2 separate regions of the Homo sapiens genome follow, and region 1 is linked to region 2. Evidence: promoter capture Hi-C in human tissues and cell types (Jung and others, 2019). All regions are on one chromosome and are shown on one strand. The core of a region is centred on a gene start or on the middle of the fragment in contact, and the rest is flanking DNA. Distances in the headings are between cores, read along the strand shown. Region 1 overlaps TLDC2 (TBC/LysM-associated domain containing 2). Region 2 holds the start of DSN1 (DSN1 component of MIS12 kinetochore complex).

Region 1 (6,603 bases), core at 1,691-4,190, 110 kb before region 2:
GTCCACACTGGGGTGAAGAGTACTTGGAATGTCTGCCATCCTGTATGATCACCCCACCCCCTGTCCATCCATCAGTAGATAATAAGGGTTGGTTACAATTCATAAGAGAATAGTTAAAACACTTCTCCTCTCATGCCTACCATGGTGCTGTATCAAGGGGATTTGTTCACATATGGGCTCAGCAACGCACAAGTGAGGTCAGCCATGGCACTAGGTCATTCCCATTTTAGCCAAGGTGCCTCTATAGGGGTCAGACATCATGTGCCCAGACCTAAGGTCAGGAATGTCATATTTTTCTGTTAAAATCATTTTATTTCTGTGTATCTTACCTTTAAATCATTGTGGTTTACTCTGAGATTCTGTAGTCCTAATATTGTATCATTGTGCTGTCTGCAAAACAACTTGAATCTATTTTGTTTGCATCTTTTGTTACATGTAACGCAGCTGTACTTTATGTTCTTTGCAACTGTTTCCATTATGAGAACGCTGTGCTATTTACAAGGTTACATTTTTCTTGGCCAGGCGAGGTGGTCATGCCTGTAATCCCAGCACTTTGGGAGGCCAAGGTGGGCGGATCACTTGAGGTAAAGAGTTGAGACCAGCCTGGCTAGCATGGCGAAACCCAGTCTCTACTAAAAATACAAAAATTAGCCGGGTGAAATTAGCCGGGCGTGGTGGTGTGTGCTTGTAATCCCAGCTACTCGGGAGGCTGAGGCAGGAGAATCGCTTGAATCCGGGAGGCAGAGGTTGCAGTGAGCCAAGATCAGGCCACTGCACTCCAGCCTCGGGGTCAAGAGCGAAACTCTGTCTCAAACAAAAAGAAAGAAAGGAAGGAAGGAAGGAGGGAAGGAAGGAAGGAAAGAGAGAAAGAAAAGAAAGAAAGAAAGAAAGAAAGAGAAAGAAATATCTTTGCTATTTGTATAAAAATGGAAATTTTAACAGCTTAGCCTCTAGAGAGTTACTGAACGTGGTTACCTTGGGAATGTAAATAGAACTGCAAATTAAAATGACTGGCCACTTCAACTGGGTAAGGGAAACAGCTGCAATAAAGCTTCGTGAATATATATCTCCATCTTGAAAGTTGTGTTCCACAAAGGTTTCGACCTCTTTGTCCAAAAATGCATATTACTCATTTACTCCTTTCATACCTTCATTGTGAAATTAAATAACAGACTCACAAGCACCTGGCACTGGTGGCAGACAAAAAGGCCTCAACATTCTGCAGCAGGCCAGAGGAGGAACGACGCTGCTACAGTATTTATTAGTTCCAGTGCTCAAGCCCAGGTTTCTAAGGTTTGACAATATTCTGTAAGTTAAAATCATTTCCACACATACAGAGTAGAATCCTGTTTTTGTAAGTATACACACACACACACACACACATTCATGGAACATTGTCTGGAAGGATATACATGAAAATGTTAAGAGTTGGGGGGGGTTGAATTTTAGGCAATTTTAATTTTTTTAACGTCTTCTGGTTTTTCTACAATAAACATGAATCAGTTGTAGAACCTCTAAAATGATAATGTTCATGAGGTTGGTTTTCCTCGTTCAGTAGCTGGCGAGGAACAGCATAGTGAAAAATCTTCCCTTTGCCAGGAGGCAGGCACTAGCGGGGAAGAGATGTGGATTTTTCTGAGTTTTCTAAGACCCTGTTAGCTTAGGGTCTCTGTGCTGCTTGAGTAAGGTGTAAGCGTCTTTTAATCCTTCAAAGTCACCTCTGCAAAAGAGCAGTGCCTGCCCCCACCTGTATCTTGGGTCCCCAGGCCACAAGGAGGCTGGCCAGCAGCCTCGGCCAACTCTAGGGCCCTTCACCATCTGTGTTTCAAACAGCACAGGCTGCTGTGTGTCAGGAAGGCCTGGGTGGCATCATGAGCAGGGCTGAGTACCTGTTGCCGCAGGGCTGTCAGCTGAGAAGCCAAGCCTCCAGCTCCTGGATGCAGAACTGCTCCTGCCGGGCCAGCACCTCGTTGTTGAAGGTCGGGCAAGGGGAGCTTCCCCCGCGGAACAAGTCTCCATCCAACCACAGCCCAAACCGGCCACTAGAGAGAAGAGGACAGTCTTGGTGCGGCTCACTCCTGTGTGCTGAAACCCCCAGGCTCTGCCACCAGCATCAGCTCTTGGCCATGCCAGGACGGCAGCCCAGTTTCACCTGTCTTATCGCCCCTTAAAGCAATTTATACTGAATTATTGGGGACTCAGCACATTGTTCCCCATGGGGTTAAGAGCTTTATTTATTTATTTGTTTATTTATTTATTTATTTATTTATTGAAACGGAGTCTTGCTTTGTCACCCAGGCTGGAGTGCAGTGGCACGACCCTGGCTCACCACAACCTCCACCTCCCGGGTTCAAGCAATTTTCCTACCTCAGCCTCCCTAGTAGCTGGTATTACAGGCCGCCCACCACTATGCCTGGCTAATTTTTGTATGTTTAGTAGAGATGGGGTTTTGCTATGTTGGCCAGGCTGGTCTTGAACTCCTGACCTCAAGCGATCTGCCTGCCTTGGCCTCCCAAAGTGCTGGGATTACAGGTGTGAGCCACTGCGCCTGGTCAAGATGGCAATTTTTTTTTTTTTTTTTTTTTTTTGATAGGAGTCTTGCTCTGTCGCCCAGCCTGGAGTGCAATGGCGCGATCTTGGCTCACTGCAAGCTCCACCTCCCGGGTTCACACCATTCTCCTGCCTCAGCCTCCCGAGTAGCTGGGACTACGGGTGCCCACCACCACGCCTGGCTGATTTTTTGTATTTTTAGTAGAGATGGGGTTTCACCATGTTAGCCAGGACGGTCTCGATCTCCTGACCTCGTGATCCGCCCACCTCGGCCTCCCAAAGTGCTGGGATTACAGGCACAAGCCACCACGCTCGGTCCAAGATAGCAATTCTTAATACAAAAATTAGCCGGACGTGGTGGTGGGCAACTGTTGTCCCAGCTACTCGAGACGCTGAGGCAGGAGAATCACTTGAACCCAGGAGTCGGAGGGTGTGGTGAGCTGAGATCACACCACTGCACTCCAGCCTGGGCGACAGAGCGAGACTCTGTCTCAAAAAAAACAAAATGGCAATTCTTTAACCAAAGCTAGTACATCTCAGGGTGCAAACTCTGAGAGCCCAAATGCTTCAGAGCGTCCATTCTAATCCCCTTATTTGACAGAAAACCTCGGCTGAAACCAGGAAGTGAATTCCTGCAGATCAGCAATGGCTGATGTGTTCTGTGCCAAGCTGCCCCTCAGTGGAGGCTTTTCAGGCAGTTGGGAGAGCAAAGAATTTGCCTGGTACTAATCAAGCAATGCTCTCATCCCCGCCCTCAGGATAAGACGCATGCCCCCTGAATGTGAAGGTCACACCAGGATGAGATCAACTTTTTTTTCCTACCTCTCTCTACCCCGTCCTCACCGAGGGAGGTTCCTGCAATGAGTTATGTCCCCTGCAATTCCTGGGCTGGTGGAAAAACGAGGCACACTCATCTCTTGACGCTAGTCTCATCCAACCATGTGGAATTCTTTTCCCAAAGTTGCATACATTCAGACTAAACTGTCACCAGCTGTAACACTTCAGTGGGGGCACTCATGCATCCTTTCTCCTTAATACTGGCTTAGCGTGAGGTTGAGGGGGTTGGCTGGGAGGCTGAGCAATGAGGGGAACGGCCTGAGAGTTCCCCACTAGCCTCGCCATTGCATCAAGGGCAGCCTAGCCCAGCAGTTCGGCAGAGGGAAAGGGACCAGAACACAGACCGCCCCAAGACTCGGGAAGACTGAGACACTCACCTGCCACTGCCCATCATCAGTGAATCCAAGTCTCCCTTCACAAAGAAAGAGTTGCTTCCAGTCCACTTAAAGACCTGGGTGATACATAGGGAAAGGCTCAGGTTACTAAGCGAGCGAGTCCCGCCCTTGCAGTTTGACCCCGAACCACTGGATGGCAGTGTTGTGGCGGGAACAGCATCCAGGCCCCAACCGAGCCGCAGGTGGGACTCCGGGCTCAGGGATCTTGGGGTTTATCTTCTCAGTCTCCTTGGAGTCACCACCGCATGCCCTCTAGTTTGAATTCCTACAGCCTAGAAGCCTCTTTGTTCTAGAATAGGACAACGACCCCTGAGGCTTCCTGCTTCCAAAGCTGGAGGGAGGAGGGGAGCAGTCCAGGCCAGGAGTGGGAACTGATACTGCCCTTCTAACTAACTCTCACCCGGACAACACCAGCCCGCCTGCTCTTCAGTGCTGCCTCACATCCAGCTCATCAACAAGCCTCGCAGCTCTAGACACAGCGGGCCTGCCGCCATTTCTATCCCGTCCTCTGCCTGGATCACAGCCTCCCAGCTGGTCCCTCTGCATCCACTGTCTGTACCTACAGCCATACCCACACTGCAATCTGCGTGATCTGTTCTACGTCCAAATCAGATGTTATCTCTCCTCTGCCTAAGTCCTCCAATGGCTTCCCATTGCAATGGGGATAAAATTCAACTCCTTAACAATGGCCAGAAGTGCAGCCTGGGACTGGCGCAGTGGCTCATGCCTGTAATCCCAGCAATTTTTTAACTAGCTAGGTGTGATGGTGTGCACTTGTAATCCCAGCTACTCAGTAGGCTGAGGCGGGAGGATCACTTGAGGCCAGGAGTTTCCTCGAGGTCAGGAGTTCTAGACCAACCAAGGCAACATAGTAAGACCCTCCCCTATCTCTAAAAAAAATTTTTTTTCTCTCTCTTTTGAGACAGAGTCTCGCTCTTTTGCCAGGCTGGAGTGCAGTGGCGCAATCTTGGCTCACTGCAACCTCCGCCTCCTGAGTTCAAACGATTCCCCTGCCTCAGCCTCCTGAGTGGCTGGGACTACAGGCACGCACCACCACGCCCGGCTAACTTTTTGTATTTTAGTAGAAACAGGTTTCACCATGTTGCCCAGGCTGGTCTCAATCTATTGACCTCGTGATCCGCCTGCCTTGGCCTCCCAAAGAGCTGGGATTACAGGCTCGAGCCACTGCGCCCGGCCCTAAAACAAATTTTTAAACCTAGCTGGTCACAGTGGTGTGCACCTATAGTCCCAGCTACTGGGGAGGCTAAGGTGGAAGGATCACTTGAGCCCAGGAGTGGAGGCTGCAGTGAGCTATGATCGCACCACTGCACTCTAGCGTGGATAACAGCGCAAGACCCCAACTCTAAAAAACAACAAAAAAACTGTCAAAACTTAAAAAGTGCAGCCAGCTCTAACCCCTGATTTTCTCTCTGGCCCCTTCTCCCCCTTATTGACTACACATTAGCCACACCAGTCTTTCCATCCCTGGAACACCCAAAGCCCATTCCTGACCTAGAATCCCTCTGCCCAGAATGCTCTTCCCCTAGATCCTCAGAGGGCCCACCTCTCATCCTTCAGCCCAAATATCATCTCAGAAATTTCCTGGACCACCCTATCTGAAGTAGCCCTTCCTCCCAGACCCTGTTTCATTCCTCTTTATTTATTTATATTAAGGACGTTAAGTTCCGTGTGGCCTGTCTTCTTCCTGGCTGTATTCCTGGAACATATATATTTATTGAATGCAAAAATTATTCAAGAGTCAAAATAGTTTTAAAGGGCTGCAAAACGATAGGATGTTATTGCCTTAATCAGTGGCCCAAAATGCTGTGAGCAACCAAAGGGTTTTTAGCCGGAAAACAGACTAATAAAAGATACGTCCTATGCTCAGGAGAGATGAGATCATATTAACAAGTGACCACAAGGGGACAGAATCATTCAAGTCCTCCTCTACTTTCTCGAAGGACATGACCTTTGACCTGAAGGAGTAAGATACACGTTGCTGTGGAAGGAATTGAGACCAAGTTCATGGTGCCGTTTGGAATAGCAATCAACGAACTACCGAATTCATGAGGAATACAAGTGCCAGAAGGCCAGAGATAGCCAAGAATTAACCAATTTTTTAGAAGATGAGATTCCATAACAATAGACTGGAAAGACAGGCTCCCCTGAAAAAGTTACTCATTTCATTCAACAATTTTTTTTTAAAGCACTTATGCACCAGGCACTATTTTCAGGCACTGGGTAGACTGCTGAATACAATAGACAAAAACCTCTGCCTCAACGGACTGACTTTCTAGTGGGAGAAGGCAGATAACAAAGTAAAAGAAGTTCTCTGGCCGGGCACGGTGGCTCACGCCTGTAATCCCAACACTCTGGGAGGCCAAGGCAGGTGGATCACCTGAGGTCAGGAGTTCAAGACCAGCCTCGCCAACGTGGTGAAACCCTGTCTCTACTAAAAATACAAAAATTAGCTGGGCGTGGTGGCATGCCTGTAATCCCAGCTACTCGGGAGGCTGAGGCAGGAGAATCGCTTGAACCTGGGAGGCAGAGGTTGCAGTGAGCTGAGATTGCCCCACTGCACTCCAGCCTGGGCAACAAGAGCAAAACTCCGTCTCAAAAAAAAAAAAAAAAAAAAGAATTTCTGTGTTAAATGATGGCAAACGCTAGGGGGAGAAGGACACTAAGGGCTTCCTAGGGCTGGGTGTTGTCATTTTATTTATTTATTTATTTATTTATTTATTTATTTTTAGAGACAGGGTCTTGCTCTGTCGTCCAGGTTGGAATGCAGTGGCATGAGCAATGACAGCTCACTGCAGCCTCA
Region 2 (5,978 bases), core at 2,377-4,876:
AGCGGATCTGAAACCTAACTTTTCCCCACTCCCAGCTGCCTGGGAAGTGGGGAGCCCAGGGAGGCCACAGCCAGCTGGCTGGTTTGGAGTCACTTGGGAGGGGCCACCAGGTGTTCTGGCTGCTGCCTGCTGATACTTCAGCGTCTCCCACACAGTGTGATATGACCACTGAGAAACAAATGCAGTCTTCAAAAAGAAGAAAAATAGAATTGAACTTTTCTACAAAAGACTTTAACAATTTTATGAAAAAAAAAAAGACACTTTTAGGTGTGTGTCAATTGTCTATTGAAGCGTAATTAATTATTCCGAAACATTTATTATACCCCACAGATGCTATGGGTCAGGAATTTGGGAGCTGGGCAGTTCTGATTCAAGGTCTCAGGAGGTTGCAGTCAGTTGTCAGTCAGGCTACAGTCATTTGAATGCCTGATGAGCTGGAAGACCCATTTGCAAAGTAGCTACTTATGCCTGGCAAGTCATTGCTAGCTGTTTGCAGGAGGCCTCAGTTCCTCACCATGTGGACCTCTGTAGGCTGTTTGCGTGCCTTCACAACATGGCGTCTGGCTTCCTCCACAGCATGTGATCTATGAGAGAGCAGGGAGGAAGTCACAATGTCTTTTATAGCTAAGCCTTGAAACTCACAGACTAGGCCAGGCGCGGTGGCTCATGCCTGTAATCCCAGCACTTTGGGAGGCCGAGGCGGGCAGATCACCTGAGGTCGGGAGTTGGAGATCAGCCTGACCAACATAGAGAAACCCCATCTCTACTAAAAATACACAGTTAGCTGGGTGTGGTGGTGCATGCATGTAATCCCAGCTACTCGGGAGGCTGAGGCAGGAGAATCGCTTGAACTCAGGAGGCAGAGGTTGCTGTGAACCAAGATCGCGCCATTGCACTCCAGCCTGGGCAACAAGAGCAAAACTCCGTCTCAAAAAAAAAAAAAAAAGCCACAGACTATAATGTCTATAATGTCTGCAATATCTAATTGGTTATATAGACTAGCATTCTTCAGCATGGGAGGGGACAACACGAGGGCATGAACACCAGGAACCAGGGGTCATTGGGGGCCATCTTAGAAGCTGGCTACATGATACTTCATAGATCTCTTCTATGAGGGGCTAATAACAGCCAGGCATGTGCTAGGTATTGAGGATACAATGGATGGGCCTGGAAGATATGAAATCAAATGTTAATGGCAGGGGGAGCCCAGGGTGCTCAGCCAGCCCAGAGGAAACAAGAAAGGCTTCACAGAGGAAAGGACATCTGAATGACACCTAAGATTGAGATGTTGACCAGATGAAGGCCATGGTGGTGTGTTGTAGGCACGGGACTGAGGGGAAGTGGTTCCAGGGAGAGGGAATACCATGTGTGAAAGCCTCGTAGAAAGAGAGCAGAGCAGAACTGGGGAACTGAAAGAAGAGGCTGGGTCAGATCACACAGTGCCTTTTTTCTTTTTCCTTTTCTTTTCTTTTTTCTTTTTTTTTTTTTTTTTTGAGATGAAATCTTGCTCTGTTGCCCAGACTGGAGTACAGTGGCATGTTCTTAGCTCACCGCAGCCCTGGCCTCCCAGGTTCAAGTGATTCTCCTGGCCTCCCAGGTTCAAGTGATTCTCCTGCTTCAGCCTCTCAAGTAACAGGGATTATAGGTGCATACCACCACACCTGGCTAATTTTTGTATTTTTAGTAGAGACAGGGTTTTGCTATGTTGGCCAGGCTGGTCTCAAACTCCTGACCTCAACTGATCCGCAGGCCTCAGCCTCCCAAACTGCTGGGATTAGAGGCGTGAGCCACCACACCCAGCCTAATGACACAGTGCCTTATAGGGGAAAAAAATGTGTGCCTCCTGTGGACAGGAGGGAGCCATGCAACAATTCAAAGCAGGGAAACGATGTAGAAGATGTATTGGGTCTGTATTCCATGAAATCATTTTCTCATTGTGCCCCAGGATGGCCAGCCCTAGCTGGGAAGGAACACTGAGTTCTCTTCCTGGCACGTTGACAGAGAGGAGTTTAAGAGGCAGGCAAGCATAAAAGGAACTGGGTACCTCTCAACCCCAGAAAGTGATATTCAGGGAGCCAAGGGCAAATCTCTGCTTTCAGAATGGCTGCTGCAGCCAGCAGGCTGGAACCACAGGGTGGAAATTTCAGGAAGGCAGATTTTTGTCTCCCACCAGAAAACTTTTCCAAGGACCACAACTGCTATGGAAGGATGACCACGGTCAGCTCCAGCTGCCTCTCTCCAACCCCTCTTTTGGACTGTGGGCTGCTTATAATTCAATATTTGGAAGTTTTTCTGTGAAAGAAAGGACTGTGCACATCCAAGGGGACATTTTGGTGGCGTCGTGCTGGGTGCTGAGGAAGCAGCCCGCTCTCTGGAGCCTCCTAGACCAGCATGGGATAGTGGAGCAGGAACAGATTGGGCTCCTGGGAGCACAGAAAGGACAGTTGGTTTTCAGCCTAAGGCCAGAGAGAATGCTTGGAGAGAAATCAATCATTCCTTAGCTGAGGCTTAAAATTCGAGGATGTGGCCGGGCGCAGTGGCTCATGCCTGTAATCCCAGCTCTTTGGGAGGCCGAAGTGGGTGGATCACTTGAGGTCAGGAGTTCGCGACCAGCCTGGCCAACATTTTTAGTGGCCGTCTCTACTAAAAATACAAAAATTAGCCAGGCGTGGTGGTGGGCGCCTGTAATCCCAGCTACTCGGGAGGCTGAGGCAGGAGAATCGCTTGAACCCGAACCCGGGAGGCGGAGGTTGCCGGGAGCCGAGATCGCGCCACTGCACTCTAGCCTGGGCGACAGAGCGAGACTCCGTCTCAAAATACAAAAAAATTGGAGGATGTAGCTAGGAAAAGCAGGGAAAGCCTTCCCAGGCAGAGGGAACAGCGCCTGGGAATATAGCGCCTCAAAGGGCATCTGATGCCCTGTCCCCGTCCTACCCCTAAGGACCAGCCCGACCTGCCGCACCCCCCGACCCCGACTAAGGACACTGCGACCACTTGGGGGCGCTGCGACCTCCTCCCGGGTGAAATGAAACCCGAGGGCAGGCCCCCACCCACCAAGCAAGTAAAGCAAGCCGTTTGAGGGAGTGGCCTGGAAATGAGAGAGAAAAAGTCCTAGAGCAGGAGTGGGATAGACTGTGAGGCAAACTGAGCTCAGAGCTCCAGTCCACCCTGGGGAGAGTCACGGTCCACATTTTGGGAGTTAAGGAGATAAAGGGAGTGGGAACCAGAGCCTAGCGACGGGGACAGGGCATCAGATGCCCTTTGAGGCGCTGTATTCCTCCGGCAAGAATCTCTCCGGGCCTCTGTTTCCCCCATCTTAGATGGGCTCTGGGGCCGTCGGGCGCAAAAGGACACGATAGTGTGGCGGGTCCCGGAAAGGGACTCCCGGGCGGGGTGTTGCGGGGAGGTGGTGACGTGGCCAGACAGGACCTAAAGGACTTGGACTAGAGGAGCGGAGCTGGCAGGAGCGTTGGACGGCGGTGTACGCATGCGCGTCGGGCGGCGGTGTACGCATGTGCATCGCCGGAGGCAGGCGTTCTGCGCGCGCGTGCCCGAGAAACTGACGGCCGCGCATGCGCCCTTGGTTGGCGGGAGTTTCGGAGGCGGTGACCGTGACGTAGAAGGTGGAGACCGCTTCACCCTGATCAGGGAGTATCGGCTGCGGGTGCGCAAGGCGTCCAGGAGTGACCTGGGGCTGTGGAGAGCGACCCGTGGCCTTGTGTTTCAGGTACGGAGGTTCCGGACTGGACGGGCGTCAGGAAGTCACAGACTTGTCCTCTGATGTGGCCCCGCCCGCCGCCGCACTAATCTCTTCGGCGTCGTACCCGTCGGCCCAGCTCGACCCGCCGCAGCCCCGGCCCCGACCGTGGACACTGGGGGTCCCCGAGGGCGCTGCGACCTCCTCCCGGGTGAAATGAAACCCGAGGGCAGTCCCCCTTACCGACCCCATTAGAGACGTATCTGCCGTGCCAGGGGTCTAGGCTCCAGAAACAGGGGTGAGGACTGGGTAGAGGGCTGGGGTTCGAATTGCCCCTGTGCCCCCAGGCTGGCTGTGTCACAAGCTTGGGCCAGGCTTTTTGCCCCTCTGAACCTCAGTTCCCCTGTCTGCAAAGTGGAGTTAATGGTGCTTACGGAGTTGTGGAAGGGATTAAGTGGAATAACGATGCAAGTAAAGCGCTTACATAGCACAGGTCCTAGCACAGAATAAGCGTTTAACAGTTGACAGTTGTTGCTTTTCTAAGCCTGGATCTGTGTGATACAGTCGTTATTATCCAAGCCTGGATTTGTGTGATATTGTCATAAGGACCGTGGGGGATTCAGATCCTTGACCGAGCCCTCCTTGTTATCTTTTCCTTTTTGTCCCTCTGCATATATTCATATCTTTTTACTTAGCACCCCCCACAGACAGATTTCTGCTGGGAGGGAGGGGACGATGAAGAGATGCCTAGGTGACATCCCTGCCTTCCAGGCAGTTGTTCCTGACAGTCACTAGGAATACAAATACAGCCTGGCTGGGGAGACAGACATGTAAACAGATTTTATAGCCAATGCTACGAAGGCCAAGGGGCATAACCACCAACTCTGCCAAAGATAAGTGATGTGAAAGCTTCATATTTGAGCCAGGTTGGGAAGGATGAATAAGTTTAACAGGTAGAAGGACAGATATGTGCAAAGATTCAGAAGTAGTACAGGGAATAGGACTGGGAGGAGAGAGCAGGAATGGGTAAATTGGGACTAGTTTACCTGAGGTGTTGACTACACTTTGGAAAAGTCCCGGCAACTGTCTGAAGAATAGACTGGGCCGGGTGTGGTGGCTCAGGCCTGTAATCCCAGCACTTTGGGAGGCTGAGGCCGGGCGGATCACCTGAGGTCAAGAGTTCGAGACCAGCCTGGCCAATATGGGGAAACCCCATCGCTACTAAAAATACAAAAATTAGCCAGGTGTGGTGGCAGGCACCTGTAATCCCAGCTACTCAGGAAGCTGAGGCAGGAGAATTGCTTGAACCTGGGAGGTGAAAGTTGCAGTGAGCCGAGACTGCGCCACTGCACTCCAGCCTTGGCGACAGAGTGAGATTCCACCTCAAAAAAAAACAAAAACAAAGAATAGACTGGAGACGGGCCGTTGGAGGTAGAAAAACTAGTGGAGAGACTATTAAGATAGTGGGAGGGACCAGAAATTATGAGACCTGAACTAAACTAGTAACAGTGAGGCTGGGCGTGGTGGCTCACGCCTGTAATCCCAGACTTTGGGAGGCCTAGGCTGGTGGATCACTTGAGGCCAGGAGTTTGAGACCAGCCTGGCCAACATGGGGAAACCCCATCTCTACTAAAAATGCAAAAATTAGCCAGGTATGGTGGTGCATTCCTGTAATCCCAGCTACTCAGGAGGCTGAGGCAGGAGAATCACCTGAACTGGGGAGGAGGAGGTTGCAGTGAGCCAAGATTGTGCTACTGTACTCCAGCCTGGGCAACAGAGCAAGACCCTGTCTCAAAATAATAAATAAACTAGTAACAGTGAGAATGGAGAAAAGATTTAGAGACTGTTTATAAAACAGTTAGGACTTTGGATCTGGAGAACTAAGAATAAGAAGTAATGGATGATGTGGTTTTTCTAGTTTGGAAGACCAGGTAGACCATAATGTCATCAATGGAATTAGGGACTAGTTAAACACAAAGTAACTGGGAAGTAAGGTAGGGTATGTGTTCAGGGAGATTTGAATATTTCTAGCAATAAAGTGTATAGAAATTCAGAAGAGGAGGTGATGGCCCCTGCTGATATTCTCTGTCAGGGAGGTGGATAAGGGTAGCTCAGAGAGGCTGGAAAGCACACGGCCTATTTATTCTGGGGCTGTAAAGCCCCATTGAGACTGCAGTGAAACGTGAAGAACAGATCACTTCCATTTTCCTATTTTCAGAGTTTACCACCTAGGATGACTTCAGTGACTAGATCAGAGATCATAGATGGTAAGTATTGTAGT

The links. The method cuts DNA at HindIII sites, captures the fragments that hold promoters and counts their contacts. A contact is called where the count stands out against the background at its distance.
Region 1: a fragment that was not itself captured here is called in contact with the fragment with the promoter of DSN1 in region 2 in 6 of the 25 tissues and cell types used here (H1 embryonic stem cells, dorsolateral prefrontal cortex, lymphoblastoid cells and 3 more).

What each region holds. Positions count from the first base shown.
Region 1 is chr20:36,884,690-36,891,292 of GRCh38, reverse strand. TLDC2 (TBC/LysM-associated domain containing 2) reads right to left here. Exons shown (of 7, transcript NM_080628.3): 5 at 3,765-3,838; 6 at 1,890-2,042. The coding sequence ends at 1,907. It overlaps SAMHD1 (SAM and HD domain containing deoxynucleoside triphosphate triphosphohydrolase 1), which reads left to right. Exons shown (of 16, transcript NM_015474.4): 16 at 1-1,064. Among named protein-coding and RNA genes, the nearest start is that of TLDC2, 12 kb to the right of the region's middle. RefSeq lists an enhancer at 3,383-4,105. The HindIII fragment of the contact is 8,903 bases long and covers 1-6,603 here.
Region 2 is chr20:36,771,411-36,777,388 of GRCh38, reverse strand. DSN1 (DSN1 component of MIS12 kinetochore complex) reads left to right here and starts at 3,626. Exons shown (of 11, transcript NM_001145315.2): 1 at 3,626-3,727; 2 at 5,916-5,964. The coding sequence starts at 5,931. LOC124904894 (a long non-coding RNA gene) reads right to left here and starts at 2,254. Exons shown (of 2, transcript XR_007067574.1): 1 at 2,171-2,254; 2 at 297-584. RefSeq lists enhancers at 2,775-3,321, 3,281-3,360, 3,371-3,510, 3,641-3,700, 3,322-3,867. The HindIII fragment of the contact is 22,977 bases long and covers 1-4,334 here.